Linked DNA regions of Homo sapiens: all the other regions are linked to region 2. Evidence: promoter capture Hi-C in 16 types of primary human blood cells and fetal thymus (Javierre and others, 2016). All regions are on one chromosome and are shown on one strand. Each heading gives the region's core, a stretch centred on a gene start or on the middle of the fragment in contact. The rest is flanking DNA. Distances are from core to core; before and after follow the strand shown. Region 1 overlaps MERTK (MER proto-oncogene, tyrosine kinase). Region 2 holds the start of TTL (tubulin tyrosine ligase). Region 3 overlaps MERTK (MER proto-oncogene, tyrosine kinase).

Region 1 (3,569 bases), core at 342-2,841, 580 kb before region 2:
CCACACCCAGCCAATAATTATATTTTTAAATCTTAATTTTTGAAATAATTTCCAGATAATTGTAGAAGGGCCAGTGAGTTACTAGTCAGCATTGGTCAAGAAGAGGTTCAATCTTTTTATGCCTGTGAATTGGGAACATGCTGCTGGGTAGAAAAACTGAGCTGGGACCTTGAACACACATGTGAAACAGTCGCTTTCCATATAATAGCCAGAATGAGATTTTGGAAACGAATCTGATTGTATTTTCCATTTGAAAATCTTCCAGTGGCTTCCTGTTCCCTACTAGAATTTGCAGAGACTCACAGCGAACCTCTTTGACCCATTTCCATTCACTTCCCTCTTGTTCCTACCACTCCAGCCACCTGTGTCTTCTTTCTAGGGCCTGAGCAGCCTTTGCAGTGACTCTTCCCTCTGGCTGGAACCTTTTTCCCAAGATCTCGGCATGCTGGCTTCTTCTCATCCTTTGGGTTTCAGTTCAGAGGTTCTCCTTGAGAAGCCTTCCCCAATAACCACCCCCTGCCAAAGTATCATATGCATACACCCCACTATCCCTTAAATTTAATTTCCTGATAATGCTTCTCACAACCTGATCAGTTCCTTCCTTCCTTCCTTCCTTCCTCCCTCCCTCCCTCCCTCTATTTCTTTATTGACAGAGTCTTGCAATGGCAAATTCTCTGCTCACTGCAACCTCCGCCTCCCAGGTTCAAGCAATTCTCCTGCCTCAGCCTTCCCAGTAGCTGGGATTACAGGCACCTGCCACCACAGCTGGCTAATTTTTGTATTTTTAGTAGAGACAGGGTTTCACCATGTTGGCCAGGCTGGTCTCGAACTCCTGACCTCAGGTGATCCGCCTACCTCAGCCTCCCAAAGTGCAGAGATTACAGGCGTGAGCTATGGCACCCAGCCTTACCTCTTTGTTTACTCCTTTTCCTCCACTGTCCCCCCACCACAAGGTAAGCTCCTGGTGGCAGGGCTGCTGTCTTTTTCACTGCTAACACAGCATGGAGCTCATACGGGTGCTCAGTGAGTATCAGAGCACAGCATGAAGGAACCAAGCCCCTGCATGTCTTACCAGGTGCTCTTCACCCTTATCTTTTCCTACTGGCTTTTCCAGAAACAGAATTGCTGGAGCTCCCATGCCCTCACATTCGGGGCTTGGTTAATAGAAAACAATCTTTTATTTTGCTGTGATGCCAATGTGATTTCATTGCTGGAGGAGCTAGTCAATTAAAACCAGACAGATTTTTGGGCTGTATTAACCCCAAACATATTTTACATTGTCCTAACTATTCCAACTAGAAAAAAAAATGTCAGAAGGTAATTTTTCATGTTAAACACAGTTCTAACAACTCCTTGCTCAGGGGCAGGTAGCCCTGGGTGCCTTGACTTTGGCCCTTGCCGTTAGTTTAATCTTAACCCAAAGCACATGGCTCTGAATTGGTATGTTTCTCAGCAGGAGATTAATTATTATAAAAACTGAAAGGGGTCTCACACTGTGTGAGGCACACTATGCCTCTGGGGACTGGAATGAAAGTGTTAACCGGGACTGGCTTCTGGGGCTTTGGGGGTGGTGATTAACTTTCAGGACCTCTGTTCCTTTTTGGGTACAGTGGGAGGCTCTTTTCATAGAATTGTTAGGAGGACGTAATGAGCTAATGGCAGGTGATATGTGCTTAAAATATATTTGCCATTATTACCAATGGTTCTCCTCCATTCTTCTGAACTCAAGTATGGGGGAAATGTTTTTCCTAGACAAAAGGTGTTGGGAGGAGGGTTCTTTTCTTATTGAAGTGTATCCTGAATGGTCCACCCTCCATTGTTCAGAATGCTTTGGTGAAGGGGCCCTCCGGTGTCGCCCTAGAGTGCCCAAGTCCTTTGCTGCAGCTCTTTAGGTTTTTGTTTCCTAGTAGTTTGAGCAAAACCCACCCAGGACCAAGCAGTTCTCCAGAGAAGCAGGGCCCGCCCTGACTGCCATTCCCCTCCTACTCCTGCCCCCATACCTTCCCTTATGGAGTTCAAACTTGACATAGTACAGGAATAGCTTCTTGTCATGTGCCTCTCAGGAAGGTATAAAAATGAAGTCCAGTTCCTGTTCAACTTTTCCCACATAACTCTTTTCCAAACTGGGTGTGGTTTAAATTTTTTTATTTTTATTTTTTGTGTTTGTTTTGTTTTAGGGTTTTTGAGTGTGAACATCCAGAAAATTCTTTTTTTTTTTTTTGAGATGGAATCTTGCTCTGTCGCCCAGGCTGGAGTGCATGTGGCGCGATCTCGGCTCACTGCAACCTCCGCCTCCTGGCTTCAAGCAATTCTCTGCCTCAGCCTCCCAAGTAGCTGGGATTACAGGTGCCCTCCACCAGACCTGGCTAATTTTTGTATTTTAAGTAGAGACGGGGTTTCACCGTGTTGGGCAGGCTGGTCTTGAACTCCTGACCTCGCGATCCACCCACCTCGGCCTCTCAAAGTGCTGGGATTACAGGAGTGAACCACCTCACCCAGCTCAGAAAATTCTTTTCCTTTTTACCACATCGAGCTAGGTTTTCCCAATGAGGTCAGTTGGCTGCAACATAGAGAAAATGAGGCTTTGGTTCTTAGAGTAGATTCCGTGTACAGGCGTGAGTATGTGTCCGCAGGTGGTCTTGTAGGAAATGCAAAGGGCGCCAGGTGCACTCCTGGCTTCTGGTACTTCCTGCTTAATGGCATGGGTGAGCCAACCCTCAGGTGCCCGGGAGGGAGCCCTGATTACTCTCCCTCTGGCACTCTGGGCATTGGCTAACCCGTGACCGGAGTTAAACCAGTTCCCTCTCTTTTCATTCTATGTCTCCCACTCCTGCCTCCAGCCGAAGTGCTAAAAATGCAGCCTGGCAGGGGCAGAGAATTCCATTAGGATCAGCAGGCCCCTTTTGGAGAACAAGGATACTAAGAATACCTGCCATCCTGGCACTTCCTCCCTCCTAGGCCTTACTTTTCTCTGTCTGAACCATGGCTGTTGAACTGGGTGATTCTTAGCCACAGGAAGGGAGGGCCTAGATCTTCCCTAGTTTTGTGAGACTCTGCAGCTGGACAGCCATCCCTTCATGGGAGCTGCCACATTTTCACTCTCGGGGCCTCTGACAGGCACTAGGATCTAGGGACATGGCCGGCATGTGAAACCCTGGGCTGCTATGGCCAGGTCACCTCCTCAGGTCCTGGTGTTTCAGAGTGATAAAGAAGAAAGGGTGATTATGTCTCAAACATTTCATTGAGAAACCTACACTGTTCTTTTTTTTTTTTTTTTTTTTTTTGACATGGAGGCTCACTCTGTCACCCAGGCTGGAGTGCAGTGGCGCGATCTCAGCTTACTGCAGCCTCCTGGGTTCAAGCGATTGAACCCAGGGTTCAACCTCCTGGGTTCAAGCGGTTCTCCTGTCTCAGCCTCCCGAGTAGCTGGGATTACAGGCACCCATTACCACACCCAGCTAATTTTTGTATTTTTTAGTAGAGACAACGTTTCACAATGTTGGCCTGGCTGGTCTCGAACTCCTGGCCTCAGGTGATTGGCCCACCTCAGCCTCCCAAAGTGCTGGGAT
Region 2 (3,593 bases), core at 77-2,576:
CGAGTTCCCCCAAACGGTGCCCCCTGGAACAAGAATTTGAGCACGAGTACAGTAGTTTTTTTGGGAGGTGATCCCAGGAAACATCGGTAGTCAGGGAAAGGAAGGAAGCCAACAGAAGATGCCCTGATGAGCAAGTTGCAGCTGTGGACAACCGCAGCCGTGGCCTACAGAGGACCACCGCAATACGCCTAGGACACACGCCTCCCCGCAGGGCACGTGCGGAGGGCGAGAGGGCCAGGGCATTCTCGACCAACTCTATCCCTCGTGGAGGGAGAGCAGCTGGGAAGGAGTGCAAGCACCCAGCACCTCTAAGTCTGCCCCATTTCTGCTCTGAGCGGGCTCTCCACAGCCAGCGGTTGCCTGCAGGTGGAGCCGGTGCGCAAGACAGGCGAGTGAGCGCCTGGCGGCCCCGTGGAATCTGGGCAACGATGGGAAGGAGAAGGGCGCTTTTACAATGTGCTCGGGTAGATACCGTGAGCATCGGGGGACAGGAAGGGGAGAGGCCCCAGGGTGTTCTTTATCTACAGGAGAGTAAAAGATGCAAGGCGCAGGGCTGATGTGGGTAATTTATGAGGGACTGTAGGAAGTTTGGGGGAGCTCTGATGATCATTGCCTTCTCTTTGTATCTCAAATGCAGCAGCACAGTCTTCAGAGTGGGCTATCAGAACCGAAGGGACTTTTAAGAGCCACTCTCCGCCGCTCATAAGGGGAAATCGAGGTCCGGAGAAGGGAAAGCAAGTGGCTGAATGCCGGTAAAAGGCAGGAAAAGAGCGGAGCCCAGGGCTCCAGGGGGTCGGTTTGGGACCTGCTTCCACCAGCAGAGTCTAAGGTCATCCCCTTGGCCGTGCGCCACCCTGGGCTCAGCCGAAGGAAGGAGCACTCGACACAAACAAAACCGACGCTCCGGGTCTCCGTAGTCGTTAAGCAAAGAGGAAGAGGAAGCGCTTCTTCATTAGGCCACAGGACCGGGCCTTAGAACTTTTGGGTTTTATCCATTAAAGGTCCTTTGGCAATAGAAGAAAAACCCAGATCGAGCCCTGCAAACTGGGATCTTCCGCCGGCACCGCCCCCCGGCTGCGACCCGGGGCTCGGAAAGAACCACCCCAGGCCCGGGCTCCGGTTCCACCGCACAGTCCGCCCGCTGCGGTAAAGCCGCGCCCACCGCCGCGGGTCTCCAACCCTGCGCCGCCGCCGCCCCCGGGGGAGGGTACGGAAAGGGCGCGGCGCCGCCGCCCACGGGCTCCTCCAGAGCGCGGCGGGGCCGGGCCGCGCGGAATCACGGGACAGAGGCGGGGCCGCGCCGGCGGGGGCGGGCGTGCGAGCGGCGCTTTCCTCTCCGGCACCCGGCGGGCGCCCGGGCGCGGCGCCGCCGGCACCCGAGAGGCGCGGTAGCCGGCGCGGGCGGCGGGGGCCGGGCCGCGGCGGGCGCCCGGGCGGGGTCCGCGCTGAGCCGCCTTCTCGGCCGCCTGGTCCCTGCGGCGGCTGCCCGGCGGCCCGGGCGCGCGGCGCTTCGCCATGTACACCTTCGTGGTACGCGATGAGAACAGCAGCGTCTACGCCGAGGTCTCCCGGCTGCTCCTCGCCACCGGCCACTGGAAGAGGCTGCGGCGAGACAACCCCAGATTCAACCTGATGCTGGGAGAGAGGAATCGGCTGCCCTTCGGGAGACTGGGTGAGCCCCTCCCCGATTCCCGTCTGCCCTCCTCGGAGCGGCCCTGCGCGCCTCCCGCGGCCCGTTAGAACCGGCGCTTTTGTTTTTAAAGGTCATACATTTTCTCCTCTGTCGCTTGTCGGGCACATCAGAAACGGATTCGGAAAGATCGAAACCTGTCGTTTTTAATGCTTTCTTGTCTCCTAACTTGGATTTAGAGTCGGAGTCGCGGTGCGGCCACTCGGGGCCGCAGCTACCTCCCGACGGTGACCGGTCCCTGCAGCCCGGGAGACGCTGGCCGCCGGGGCTGGGACCTGAGGCGCGAGTCTAGCGGCTCCCCCGGGCCGAAGCCCCCAGATTTGGCGGGTCCGCCGCGCTGGGCGCGGCTCCGCAGAGCGGGCGGCTGGAGTCATCTTTTGCAGCTCGTCTGCACTGAGGATTTCTCCCTGCTTGGCGTGGGCGCGGGCGGGGGAGCCGTAGGTGTTGAAACCCCTGAGGCTTCTGCCCCCCGAAGGCGCGGAGGAGCGATCAGAGGATTTGGAAAAGACCCCCGGATTCCAAAAGCAGGAGCTGCAGAAGAGACCCTAGCCCAGGGAAGTGTGGAGGGATGTCTGATTATAAACCTTTCCTTAGTTTCACCAAATAATGTGTTTTCGCAGTTCTGCATTGGATTAAGATCTTACACGAGGCTGCGTTCGCCCTCCCTGTCTTCCCTGCTCTCCCCGAGGGAATTACCTTCATCCACATGGTTGAAGCTGGCTGGGCACCACCATACCCACATGTCCACGGGTAGGAAAGCGCAGGAGATAGGAGGGGACTAGCGGCTCCTTTGTAAGTGATGTCATCCAGAAGTTGCCCAGATCGGTTCAACTCACATCCTATTGACCTGAGCATAGTCTCATGGCCTCCCTCTCTGCACAGTCATCTGGGAATTGCATCTTCTCTCCGGGGAGCCATGTTCCTTGCCAGAATTCACCAGAGGTGGGGGCCAATTGTATTCCAAAGACAAGGGGAGAATCGATACGGAGGAAGAGTCACCTCTACCTTGGAGGGCAACCCAGAGAGAGCAATGTTCTATGTCCAGGAGAGAAAACAGTTTTTAGAAATAGGTGTGGTCAGAATTCAAATGGGTAAAAACTGAATACGGGCCATTTGGAATTGACTGGTCATTTATGAGCTTCCATAGACAGAGCCTTTGGGAGGGGGCTGTGTAAAACTCAAATCGTTGGAGGAATGAAGAGCTGCAGTGTAAAGTTGCTGGATTTTCTTCTTTTGAATAGTACCTGGGACAACTTTTCATTGGTATACAAGTTTATGATGTAGAATGGTGACTCCATGGAAGGACCCATTTGAACACCCAGAAATCTTAGAATATGGAGACTGTGCCTGGAGGCTCCCTTTGGTTAACCGGTGTCAGGAAGACCCTAGCAAAGAGAATTCATGATCTGAAAGGAGAGGAAGAATTGCTTATAGTTGAGAACAATTATTTGTTCCTTGCATTGTCCACTTCCCCTTCCAGACTTCCTGACTTCCCTCTATATTCTTGGCAGTGCCTAGCTGTGAAAGCTTAGGTGGAATCATAACATTAAAAACAACAAACATGGCTCCGCCCAGGCAGAGGTAGGAGTGACTGGCATTACCCTGGTGCTTAAGCCTAGGAGTGAGAAGCAGAAGCCTCCAGAATTTGAATCCTGAACAGATACCACAAATTCAGGAGATGATCAGTAAACGTTTGAGCTTTTTGTTTGTATGTGTTTTTTTTTTTTTTTGTAGTTTTGTTTTTTGTTTGTCTGTTTGTTTTGCGACAGAGTCTCACTCTGTCGCCCAGGCTGGAGTGCAGTGGTGCAATTTTGGCTCACTGCAACCTCTCCCTCCTGGGTTCAAGCAATTCTCCTGCCTCAGCCTCCCAAGTAGCTGGGATTACAGGCGCGCATCACCATGC
Region 3 (3,637 bases), core at 285-2,784, 560 kb before region 2:
CATCAGAAGCTTAAAAACATTTCCTGGAAGATTCTGATGTTCCGCTGGGTTTGACAGCATAGTGGGAGAGTTGGAAGAAGATAGTGAAAAGTCGAGGTCAGATTCTGGAAGGCTCTTTTCTGGTTGCATTGGTGCCCCCCATGGTAGGGACATGGACATTGCAGTCTGTTTGGGAAGCTTCTTTTGCAAAGCACCACCAAGAAAAAGGCAAATGCCCCAGTGAAAAAGTGGGGGACAGGCTGAAAGGGATGATGAGAGGGTACCTAAAGCCCTTTGGGGCCCTTGGGGCTTGCCCTGCTAACATGTGTGTTCAAGGCCAAGCAGAGAGGTACCTCTGCTCATTTTGTTTTTTGATGTTTTTTCTTTTTCTTTTCTTTTTTTTTTTTTTTTTGAGCCAAAAGGAATGTATTGGGCCAGGGGCAGTAGGAAGGTCACCCCACTGATAAGCAAGCCCCTTGTGCTTTTGCTCAGATGTCTCAGCCCCTTCATGCTGCAAGCCTTGGTTCAGAGAGGTTGGATAGCTTTCCTGGTGTGCCAGGTCCCTGTTTGCCCCTCCAGACCCACTCTCCATGCTGCTCTAAGCCCCAAGAAGCAGCCTGTGGGAAGGGCAACAATGAAATCCCTAGTGCTGTGGCTCCAGCTGGTTTTGACTAAATGATACTAAGTTATATTTGTTCCTCTAAGTAAATCCGGGGTGTTCCCATATTGGTTGCTTATCTGAAATTCAGGTGTAAAGGGCTGTACTGTTTTTTATCTGGCAACCCAATGCCAACACCGTGTTTTACAGGCAACTTCACGTTCCTTCCACCGTGCAGGCATTTCTGGGCTTTCACTGGCACTTGGGCTTTTCTCCTCCTGTGGCTGGGCTGTGACCTCTTGGGGCACACACTGCCCAGCCATTTACTTCCTTTCCTTCCTGCAAGCGCCAGGCCTGTTCTCTCCAGCACTGACTCAGAGCCAGCCACCCGCTTTCTCTTGCAGGGCTTTGCTACACTTAGGGCAAATGGGTGGCGTGATCGCCTCTTCCTCCTTTAACATTCTCCAAGTGGCCCAAGGGTCACTCCAGTGAAGTTAATAATTACCATTTGCAATTTAGGACTGATCCATCAGGTCAAGTGAGTTCTGATTGAAGGTTGTTTTTTTTTTTTCTTTTTCTTCTAATGAAGTGTTGCTACTCTGTTTGTTTGTTTTTCTTCTAATGAAGTGTTGCTACTCTTTATTTTATTTATTTATTTATTTATTTTCCGAAACAGAGTCTCACTGTGTTGCCTACGCTGGAGTGCAGTGGCGTGATCTCAGCTCACTGCAACTTCTGCCTCCCGGGTTCAAGCAATTCTCCCTGCCTCACCCTCCCGAGTAGCTGGGATTACAGGCGCCTGCCACCAGGCCTGGCTACTTTTTGTATTTTTTAGTAGAGACAGGGTTTTGCCATGTTGGCCAGGCTGGTCTTGAACTCCTGACCTCAGGTGATCTGCCCGCCTCGGCCTCCCAAAGTGCTGGGATTACAGGCGTGAGCCACTGCGACTGGCCACTACACTTTATCAATCAGGAATCCTTTGGGTATTGCATAAATAGTACTAAGTAGAAAATTTCCTTTTGTGCTATGTTTGGCCTCAGCTAGCTGTGGGGGTAAAGGGAGTGGGGTGGGAGTCCTTAACCTGGGTGACAGGGCAGCTGCTCAGGACATGATTCAAATATCAGCCTGGTGTGTGCACACAGAATGTGGGGTGGGGGCACTGGTCTAGGTTCTGCGTTTTCTCCTAGAGAGGGTAGGGAAACAGGGATACCAGCATTTACAGGATTCCAGATGCAAAAGCCTTTCTCTGAACTTTGGGAGGTGAAGGCGGGCAGATCACCTGAGGTTAGGAGTTCGACACCAGCCTGACCAACATGGTGAAACTCGGTCTTTACTAAAAATACAAAAATTAGCTGGGCATGGTGGTACCTGCCTGTAGTCCCTGCTACTCAGGAGGCTGAGGCAGGAGAATTGCTTGAACCCTGGAGGCGAGGTTTGCAGTGAGCTGAGATCACACCACTGCACTCCAGCCTGGGCTGTGACAGACTAAGACGCGATCTCAAAAAAAAAAAAAAAGCCTTTCTCTAAATCACAAACCCACCTGCAGAAGGGCTGTAGGGCTGTTTGATAGCAAATACCTTCAGCAGACAGCAAGACTGGTGAGGAAACAGCATACCTCTGGAATAAGGTGCATCCTCTTGGCCATGCATTTATGTGCCATATGTTCATGTGTGCTTGAGTTGGGAAGCAAAGAACCTCTAGGAACTGAAAGATAAGCCCTCACTCTTTTGCAGCCTCCTCTGGGCCTCGTTTTTCTTTTATTTCTATTTTTGGTAGAGACTTGTCTCACTCTGTTGCCCAGGCTGATCTTGAACTCCTGGGCTCAAGCAATCCTCCCGCTTCGGCCTCCCAAAGTGCTGGGAGCCACCACGCCTAGCCTGGGCCTCTTGAGTTTGAGGCTGAACTTTAGAGAGCTCAGCTGATGCTTCTGCCCATTTTATTGTTGGGGAAGGAATAGAAAGAGCAGGAGTAATGGGTCCCACAGGCTGGCACTCACTCCTGCCATTACTGTAACTCTGGTAGAGGAGCTATTCCTCTCTCTTCCCAGGTGCCTGGGATCATAAAGCAGGCTGATGGCACACAGCATCCTGGGGTAGCTGGGGTGGGGTGGAACTGAACAGGGTTCACCAGCCAGCACCCTCAGTCCCACAGGGCTGCCACCTGCCCTGCTCAACCCTCTTCCCACAGCATGGAGGGACTCCAGGGCCAGGGAGGCTGCTTGCTGCCACATCCCCACCCACTATCATGGGACCTGCAATTTCAGTTGCTGCTGCTTTCTTTAGTCACCTCGGTGATCACCTTGGGCTGTGATCACCAAGCTTCAAGAAAATCAAAGGAGCTCATGTTAGGAAAGGCTGGTGGAGACCATCCCTGGAGAGATTGAGAGATGCCTTAGAGCTAAGAGCCCTTCGCATCCCAAGCCCGATGTATATTTTTTCCTCTCACTCATGGCTGGCAATTATATTACTCTAGTATTGCCCTTCCCCATGCATTGTCCAAGGCAGACATCACTAATTAAACTCAGCCCTTATCCCCGCAGGGCCCAGACCTGGCTTTAGAAATTCCTACTTTAGGTGGCCAGCAGGCCAGGGTTCAGATGCAAGCCAGTAACAGCCATGTCAGCCAATATTTTTGGAGTGTGCTGGTGGACTCGATGCCTATCAGCTCCTACTGCTGAGATCCTCTTGTCCTCACAAGAGTTCAAAGAAGTTATAGAGCTTTCCTGAGGCCATACCTTGAGGTGGTGAGGGACTGGGTGGGCCTCAGCCCTCTGACTGCAAAGCTGCTAGCTAACCTCTGAGCAGCACTGCCCACCAGCCCTTCTGCCTTTGCACACTGCATTTGACAAGTGCTCAGCAAGGATTCATGGATTTGAGGGTAGGATGCACTAGTTGATCACATGGAAAATAACATTCTTTACTGGCTTGCCCTAATGAACGAATTTTGAGTCTAAGAGACTATTCACAAAGTCCCTAAATGTCTGAGCCACTGTAATTGTGTGTCATAGGCATGCTGACAGCCTCTCCAAGTTCTGTCTCCAGCCACAGCAGTGTCCTTGCC

The links. Contacts are between HindIII fragments. The CHiCAGO score rates a contact against its expected background, and 5 or more counts as called.
Region 1: a contact is called between a fragment that was not itself captured here and the fragment with the promoter of TTL in region 2, in 6 of 17 cell types (M0 macrophages, total B cells, M2 macrophages and 3 more). The highest score is 7.3, in M0 macrophages.
Region 3: a fragment that was not itself captured here is called in contact with the fragment with the promoter of TTL in region 2 in 1 of 17 cell types (M0 macrophages); the score reaches 5.7 in M0 macrophages.

Annotation. Positions count from the first base shown.
Region 1 is chr2:111,902,173-111,905,741 of GRCh38, forward strand. The region is part of intron 1 of MERTK (MER proto-oncogene, tyrosine kinase); the gene reads left to right. Among named protein-coding and RNA genes, the nearest start is that of MERTK, 5.4 kb to the left of the region's middle. The HindIII fragment of the contact is 5,986 bases long and covers 1-3,569 here.
Region 2 is chr2:112,480,830-112,484,422 of GRCh38, forward strand. TTL (tubulin tyrosine ligase) reads left to right here and starts at 1,327. Exons shown (of 7, transcript NM_153712.5): 1 at 1,327-1,672. The coding sequence starts at 1,516. RefSeq lists an enhancer at 658-727 and silencers at 1,048-1,437, 1,998-2,097. The HindIII fragment of the contact is 5,056 bases long and covers 1-3,215 here.
Region 3 is chr2:111,919,426-111,923,062 of GRCh38, forward strand. All of the region lies in intron 1 of MERTK (MER proto-oncogene, tyrosine kinase), which reads left to right. Among named protein-coding and RNA genes, the nearest start is that of MERTK, 23 kb to the left of the region's middle. The HindIII fragment of the contact is 2,718 bases long and covers 176-2,893 here.